3 separate regions of the Homo sapiens genome follow, and regions 1 and 2 are each linked to region 3. Evidence: promoter capture Hi-C in 16 types of primary human blood cells and fetal thymus (Javierre and others, 2016). All regions are on one chromosome and are shown on one strand. Each heading gives the region's core, a stretch centred on a gene start or on the middle of the fragment in contact. The rest is flanking DNA. Distances are from core to core; before and after follow the strand shown.

What was found. The method cuts DNA at HindIII sites, captures the fragments that hold promoters and counts their contacts. A CHiCAGO score of 5 or more calls a contact.
Region 1: the fragment with the promoter of ANGEL2 here is called in contact with the fragment with the promoter of NEK2 in region 3 in 3 of 17 cell types (fetal thymus, naive CD4 T cells and naive CD8 T cells); the score reaches 12.7 in fetal thymus.
Region 2: the fragment with the promoter of BATF3 here is called in contact with the fragment with the promoter of NEK2 in region 3 in 1 of 17 cell types (endothelial precursors); the score reaches 5.7 in endothelial precursors.

What each region holds. Positions count from the first base shown.
Region 1 is chr1:213,014,486-213,017,185 of GRCh38, reverse strand. ANGEL2 (angel homolog 2) reads left to right here and starts at 1,319. Exons shown (of 9, transcript NM_144567.5): 1 at 1,319-1,573. The coding sequence starts at 1,515. RefSeq lists enhancers at 1,284-1,593, 1,306-1,893, 1,894-2,482. The HindIII fragment of the contact is 5,816 bases long and covers 1-2,700 here.
Region 2 is chr1:212,698,531-212,701,230 of GRCh38, reverse strand. It overlaps BATF3 (basic leucine zipper ATF-like transcription factor 3), which reads left to right and starts at 1,391. Exons shown (of 3, transcript NM_018664.3): 1 at 1,391-1,558. The coding sequence starts at 1,469. RefSeq lists silencers at 1,374-1,453, 1,644-2,093. The HindIII fragment of the contact is 2,939 bases long and covers 146-2,700 here.
Region 3 is chr1:211,674,297-211,676,996 of GRCh38, reverse strand. NEK2 (NIMA related kinase 2) reads left to right here and starts at 1,376. Exons shown (of 8, transcript NM_002497.4): 1 at 1,376-1,613; 2 at 2,484-2,700. The coding sequence starts at 1,518. It overlaps NEK2-DT (NEK2 divergent transcript), which reads right to left and starts at 1,235. Exons shown (of 4, transcript NR_148994.1): 1 at 1,131-1,235. RefSeq lists enhancers at 1,096-1,390, 1,413-1,672. The HindIII fragment of the contact is 3,147 bases long and covers 1-1,976 here.

The DNA.
Region 1 (2,700 bases), core at 70-2,569, 1.3 Mb before region 3:
AAATGCGACCAGAGGCTTACAGGATCCTAATCCTGTATTTCCCTTAGGAGTAATGATTCAGTATTTACTAATTCAGTGTTTCCAGCAACTTTACAGAACCTAACTACTGCAAATAACAAGAATCAATTACATACTGAGGGAAAGGTTTTTTTCAAATACACTTTACTTCCTTTTATGCACCAGGGATAAGAAAAGCCTTCCCAAGAAATTACCACTGTTTCAAAGAGCCTATAAAAGCAGTGCTCCTGCCTTCTAGTATCCTTTTCCCCTCTACTCTCCACACTTTATTCTTTCTCGGTTTCTCTCTTCCTGTTTCTTGCAGGGTCTCCACTTAAATAATGTCTTTCAACAATCTACAGTCCTATAATACATTTAATAAAGGTGGACACACAAGACATACAAGTACTTTTTTTTTTTTTTTTTTTTTTTTTGAGACGGAGTCTCGCTCTGTCGCCCAGGCTGGAGTGCAGTGGCTCGATCTCTGCTCACTGCAAGCTCTGCCTCCCAGGTTCACGCCATTCTCCTGCCTCAGGCTCCCGAGTAGCTGGGACCACAGGCGCCCGCCACCACGCCCGGCTAATTCTTTGTATGTTTAGTAGAGACGGGGTTTCACCGTGTTAGCCAGGATGGTCTCGATCTCCTGACCTCGTGATCCGCCCGCCTTGGCCTCCCAGAGTGCTGGGATTACAGGCGTGAGCCACCGCGCCCGGCCCATACACGTACATTTTAAAGTGAGAGCTATGGCTGTGCTTCCGCAACATTAATTGCAAAATTCTGTGGTACCTCAGTTCCATGGGCACCCAGAGGATGCGTTGTTCAGCCTCAGCTGGGAATCTGCACTTTGGGCAATTAAAAATTTTCACTGCTCTGTTTATTTCTGCCGGGCGCGGTAGCTCACTCCTGTAATCCCAGCACTTTGGGAGGCCGAGGCGGGCGAATCACTTGAGGTCAGGAGTTCGAAACCAGCCTGGCCAACATGGTGCAACCCTGTCTCTACTAAAAATTCAAAAATTAGCCGGGTGTGGTGGCTCATGCCTGTAATCCCAGCTACTTGGCAGGCTGAGGCAGGAGAATCGCTTGAACCCGGGAGGTGGAGGTTGCAGTGAGCCGAGATCGTGCCATTGCACTACAGCCTGGGCGACAAGAGCGAAACTCCATCTCAAAAAAAAAAAAAGAAAGAAAGAAAGAAAAAGAAAAAAAAGAAAGTTTATTTCTGTTTCTTTAAGACGAAGTTCGGGTGTTTTGCCCTCTTCAGAAATGGTTGCACGCGCGTCCCACGCTCTGCGCATGCTCCTTGAGCAGAATTCCGGGTTAAGGCATTCAGGGACTCTGACTGCGCAAGATGGAGTGTAGGCCGGCCGGCGAGACTGCACCTCCCAGCATGCCTTGCAGCCAGGACTGGAGTCGGTACTTAAGAGTGATGGGGTTCCCTAGATACTTTAGGCCGTCGCATCGATTATAGAGATTGAGGTGGAACCCGGGGCCTGGGAACTGGACGCACGCGGAGGGCGAAGATGGAAGCCTGGCGCTGTGTGAGGAAGGGCTACGGCCACTGTGTGGTGGGAAGAGGCCGGTCAGTAGGGCTGGGTACTCGGAGGGAGGAGAGAGGGGCGGGCGGCCTGAAAGAGCGGGCGGGCGTCCGGGACTAACCCGGGGCGGGGCGGGGCGGGCTAGGGGTGGAAGGAAGAGGAAGAGGGTCTGGGCGATGGTGCATCCGGGACGAGCCTCCAGAGACCAAGCGGGATAGGTAAACCCGCCGCGCAGCTGGCGGGACGCTGGGCCAACGAGGTCTGGGGTCTTGGCGCGGAGTTCATGGGCCGCCGGCCAGGCTTGTGCCAGTGGCTTTGGATCCCTGGCCTGCTTCCCCCAACCCAGCCTCCAGACCAGCGCTGGCCTGCTCCACACACTCCGCAGCACCGTCCCGGGAACCGAGCGTCGGCGGGGAGGCCGCCTCTCCGCAGTAGGTCTCGGCGGGCCTGATCCCTTGGAGGCGCGTGTGTGGCACACGCCCAGGAGGGGCTTGATTTTTGTTGATGTGTTAGTGTCTTTCAAACTTTAGTCACTTGTATGTCATCCCTTACTGTTATGGCCAAGTTCTTGTTTCACGTGTATTATTTACTGGATATTTTTCTTTAAATTGACTCAGTTTTTTTTAAAAAGCACTTCAGTAGGTGCTGCCCACATTAGCTTCACCCTAAGCAGTGTCTGCAGAGTCTTGGATTTGATGTGCGATTATGTTTTTTCCTAATAAACTAACATAAGTATTTAGAAATTACAATCAAGTAATTTAACTGTGTACTCTGTGAAACCGACTCGTGTACCACCCACCACGCTTGGGAAACACAGCATGTATTATTACATAAGCGATGGGGATTTGGTTGTAACTCCCATAGGCCTGGGACTTGATGGTAATTCAGTTCAACAATGTTTCCTGAGTACCAGCTGTTTGCCAGGCACTGTGCTAGGCACTTGTGAAGATAACGGAATTAAAATGAATAAGACGGTTCTGTTCTGGCCCTGAAGGAGCTTAACATCTTAAGAGAAAAAAAAGTCTGAATAAATAACTGCAAATATAGATAATAGCTTTTGTAGTACAAGTATTATATTTCAATACAGTGGCTTATTAGCATAGAAAATGCATGGACCAAGTGCCCAAATTCCTATGGCTTTCAGAGTTATCACAAAGCAGTGTAGAATGCC
Region 2 (2,700 bases), core at 142-2,641, 1.0 Mb before region 3:
CTGCAACTCTAAAGGGCTGCGTCCACCCTCCGTCTTCCTCCCCGCCTCTCAGTTGGCCGAAGCTTCTGATCACACAGACAAGAATCTCCGCTCGCTTTCCCGCTGGCCTCCAGGCAGCCAAGTTCACTCAAGCTCTCTCAAAGCTTTTGCAAGAGTGGGTCTTAAATCCTGGCGGGGGGCACGTGCACTCATTTAAGACTTAAAAAGGAATCGGAAATGACTGTCCCCATGCCCACTGCTGCCCACAAACCTGAAGACCCAAGCGACCACACTTGGTAGGCACTTCTGCCCTTCTGGTCTGGTTCCCACCCGCCCATCCCGAATCGCGGTTATCTTTCCCGGTGCTCACAGCATGCAGACCACAGCCTGTGGCCGCTAGTGTTTCCTTCGCTAGGACCACGGGTAATTGTCTTGGCTTCGCATCTTTTGACTGGCAGGCAGGTGGACAGGGACTTGCCCTACCTCAACCCGGTCCCCAGCTTGGCACGAGCAGATAAATCTTGAAAAAGAAAAATGATCTGGGCCGTTTAACCGTGGCATGGCGGGTCCAGATCCCCAAACCTGTCACTAGTGACGTCCCACGTGGCAGATTCGCTCTCAGGGAAGCCCGTCACCGTTTTTGTCCGGGACATCCTCCCCATGCCCACCCTCCGCTCCGGGAATTCACCCTCGGGGCCGCCCCGCCTCGTTCCCTCCCACAGCCCGGCGGACCCGAGACGGGAAGGGCAGGCACTCCCTGCAGAGTCCCTGGGGCGCCCGTGGCTCGGGGTGCGCGGTGGGACTCGGTGAAGCCGGCGTCTTCACCCCAGAGCCGCGGCTTCGGGGCCGCTGGAGGAGCGAGAGTGGCGCCCGGATGACTGATCGCCGCGGAGAAAGTCCCCCGGGACTGTGACCCCCGCGCCGGGGGGCGGACGCAGGGCGTGGCTGAGGCGCAGGAAGATGCCGCGATGGGACCGGGAAAAAACACCGACCCCAAAACACCCACTGTGTTTCTCAACCTGAGTTCCCCGGCAGCCGCCGAAGGACCCCAAAGGCTGCATGGCGCCCCCCTGGTCCCCACCCCCCCGGGCGTCGCCTCGCGTGGGTGGGCTTCGCGTTCCCTCCGGGGTTTCAGAGCCACCACGTGACTTCCACGAAGCGCGGGGCGCCGGCGGAAAGCCGCGGCAGGGGTGGGATTTGGGACCCCGAGGTGCGGAGAGAGGGCGGGCAGAGGAGGAAACGAGGCGGGGGTGGGAGAAGGAGGGCGGGGCAGACGTGGGACGGGAAGGACGGCTGCCGGGACTGGCGCGCGGGGACACTGGGCCGACGCGTGGAGTAGCGGGGAGAGCGGGAAGCCTGAGGGGGCGGGGCCGGCGCGAGGCCGTGGGTGCGGCACGAGGATGCCGGCGGCGGGACAGCGCCCGTAGGCAGCCCCACGGGCAGGGCGCGCGGGCGGGGCGGGGCGGGCCGGGCCAGAGGAGCGCCCGGCATGTCGCAAGGGCTCCCGGCCGCCGGCAGCGTCCTGCAGAGGAGCGTCGCGGCGCCCGGGAACCAGCCGCAGCCGCAGCCGCAGCAGCAGGTAGAGGGCGAGAGGCTCAGGGAGGGCCGTGGGGTGCGGGGACCGGCGCGCCGCGGGGGGCGAGGAGGTGGGTGCTGGAGTTCCGTGGTGGTGACTGCGGAGGTGCAGAGGTGGCGGGTGCGGCCGGAGACAAGCAGAGGTAGGGGCGTAGGGATGTTGGGGAATGGGGGCGATCCAGGGACCCTGTCGTGCGCACAGTGTCCGCGGCTCCTGGAATGGCTCCTGAGCCAGCTCCTGCGCCCTCTGGGGGAAGAAGCCCGAGGGCGCCGACGCCTGGCTGGGCCGGGCATGGCCGGTGCTCCCCGGCACGTGGGCTCCGCACTGCCCTGAGGGCCGCCCCATCCTGGCGCAGCCAGCGACTGCCACCCCACCACCCGCGCCTGTAGCCCCTCCAGGATTCCCCCGGGTGGGGGGGGTGCTGCCGCGGGAATGGAGAACGCCGGACTAGTCAGCCTGGGCGGAGGGAACCCACAAAGGGCCGACTCCGCCCCCAGCTGGTGGAAACCCTTTGCCCCTTCCCAGTTCGCTGTCCCCTAGCAACGTTTACAGCGGCGCAGTCAGGAAGGAGACCAGGTTGGCCACAGGGACGGCCGTCTGGAAACTTTGCCTGGGTCTTGGCCACCTGCCTTACGACGAAGACTGGGTCTTTTCATCCTTACTCCCCACCTTCCCAATTCAGCGCCCGGCCCATGTCATCAGGTGTCGCTGGAGTGTCACAGAGATCTGAGTTTGGGCCTGGGCTTTGCCACACACAGGCTGAGCAGCCTTGAGCAATTTGTTTAACCTCTCGGACCGTCCATTTCCCCATCTGTAAAATGAATATAGTAACATCAACCTCTCAGGATTTTTGAGACTGAATCAGATATGGTTAATAACATAATACTATCTCTAACTTTCGCTCACCTCTTTCTGTCTTGATTAAATGTTTCTGCTGGGTTGGCAGGTGTGATCATGGTGATGAGTCCAGTTTAGAGTCAGCTCCCCGAGGGCAGTATGCAGGCTGCTTTCTTGTGCTAGTGACTTTTTGATTACAGAGAGCAAAGAGGCATGAGAAGCACTATGCAGAATACATTTTTTTTTAAAGTAGCAACTTCAACAAAGGCAGGTAACTTCTTGAGGGCATACTGTATGCTGGGAGCTTT
Region 3 (2,700 bases), core at 127-2,626:
TGAAACCTAAATTGGTCCTATTCCCCTGAGGTAAGACAGTGCCCTTGAATGTTAATTTAAAAATTCTCCTGGTTGGCAATTCCAATTATCTTATGTTATATTCAGGGCATGTAATAAGTCCCTTATTTTTACATAAAGAGCTTTTAAATTCTTATTAATAGAAAATCAGGTGTCTTTTAATCCTTTGCTGAACAGATATTTAAAGAAAACTGGCCTGTTCATGCATTTCCAAATTATTAGCTTTCTGGTAATTTACATATTCCTCTAACAAGCCCTGGATGGAGGCCTCTAAGTCCTCCTTCCCTGGTAAACATGGGGCTGTTCATTTGGCTGGGTAAGCTGAGAACGTTGGTGTGTGGGTGCGTAAAAGAGAATCTGTGTTCAATGAAGTATTGTCGATAGGGTTAATTGTGTATTTGGCACACATAAACGGGACAAGACGTGTAAAGTACTTGGTAGGAGAGCGACAGTATTTCTCCTTTTTTTTTTTTTTTTGGAGACTGGGTGTCACTCTGTCGCCCAGGCTGGAGTGCAGTGGCGCACGGCTCACTGTAACCTCTGCCTCCCAGGTTCAAGCAATTCCTCATGCCTCAGCCTCCCAAGAAGCTGGGATTACAGGCCTGCAACCCCATGCTCTGTTACTTTTTTTTTTTTTTTTTTCATTTTTAGTAGAGACGGGGTTTCGCCATGTTGGCCAGGCTGGTCTTGAACTCTTGGCCTCGAGCAATCCGCCCGCCTCGGCCTCCCAAAGTGCTAGGATTATAGGCGTGAGCCACAGCGCCCGGCCTAATTTTCGTATTTTCAGTAGAGACGAGGTTTGCCCTGTTGCCCAGGCTGGTCTGAACTCCTGGGCTCAAGCGACCCACCCACCTCGGCTTCCCAAAGTGCTAGGGTTACGGGCGAGCGTGAGTCACCGCGCCCACCCGGGAGTCTGTATTTCTAATTTGTATTCAGCTCTCAGCATATCCTCAACGTGACCCCACCCAGGTTCAGGGTACTGGAACCTGAGCGAGGAATGCGTGTGCCGGGGAGAGTAGGTAGTGTGAGGGGCCAGAGTGCAAAGGTCAGAAGGCATCTGGTGGAAGCGGTGTGCAAAGAAGCCTGAGGGGAGGACCTTAGATCTCGGTTACCTTGGCGATCTCTATCAGAGGGTTAGAGTTGCCGAGAGGCGCCAGCTGCCGCTTCCTCTCTCCCGCCCTCCGTTTGGCTTAGCTCGCCGGGTTCTCCCACAGGTTAAAAGCAGACGCCGACGCGGTTGCCTAGTGACACTTTTCCCAAAATGCCTAGGGTATTGTTGTGTTCTTCTTAGCCAATGAGAGAGGCGAAGCGGCCCACCGCCTGCCAATAGACTGCGAGATCAGGGCCCGCGACGGTTAAACGGGGCCCAAGGCAGGGGTGGCGGGTCAGTGCTGCTCGGGGGCTTCTCCATCCAGGTCCCTGGAGTTCCTGGTCCCTGGAGCTCCGCACTTGGCGGCGCAACCTGCGTGAGGCAGCGCGACTCTGGCGACTGGCCGGCCATGCCTTCCCGGGCTGAGGACTATGAAGTGTTGTACACCATTGGCACAGGCTCCTACGGCCGCTGCCAGAAGATCCGGAGGAAGAGTGATGGCAAGGTGAGCGTGGGACCTACCCTGCGCCTGCCCCTGCTTAGGTTTCGTCGCCTCGGGGCGAGCGCCCTGCGCCACCGAAGGGAACCGACAGGGCTGAGGAAATGGGTGCCCGGAAGACTAAACCGTCTTTCCTGGGTCTGCATCTGACAGCCTGTCCTGGGTGGCTTAAAGGATGGGAGACCGCTTCTTTTGATATATGTATTTCCATCTTTTCCCGTTTCTCTCCCCATTTCTCTCTTTCTCCTGCTTTGGCTTGCTAAGGACCTTCCATTGGTGACAGGTAACTAATTCCTGAGCTGTTTTTAGAGCTCTAAGAGTGGCCCTCTCAGGCACAAGAAAGGGGCAGGACTACCAGAACCCGAAGCTTTGTATCTGCAGTCAGACTCCCTCAAAATATCCATTATTAGGATTATTGGATTCATATTTCCCAATGTATATAGGTAGAACTTTTACAGAAAGTAACATTGGACAGGAAACTGCCTGGCTGCTGATGGAGGGATCTTTACCAAGGTGTCTCATCCTGGGAAAACACGACTGGGGTGGAATGGGGCAGGGACTTTGACCACCTTCACCCCAATTTTGACTATAGTACCTTTTAGCCAACTTCCCACTAACCAACTGAGGGTAGGGGTTGGGGGAGTCCTCATGTGCCTCATTCCCGTTTGTCTCCCCACAACATACATTTACTGCTTAGAACTGGAGGAAGATTATGGAAGTAAACTCACAGCTCCTTAAGTTCATTGAACTAAATTAGATAATGACCTTGATTGTAGGATATAATTAAAAGGGAGGTAATTTGTTAAATCTTGGAACTTTCATTCTTTGTTTTTGAGCATAATGAGTTCATTCATACCTTGGAAATTCTTATTTCAGATATTAGTTTGGAAAGAACTTGACTATGGCTCCATGACAGAAGCTGAGAAACAGATGCTTGTTTCTGAAGTGAATTTGCTTCGTGAACTGAAACATCCAAACATCGTTCGTTACTATGATCGGATTATTGACCGGACCAATACAACACTGTACATTGTAATGGAATATTGTGAAGGAGGGGATCTGGCTAGTGTAATTACAAAGGGAACCAAGGAAA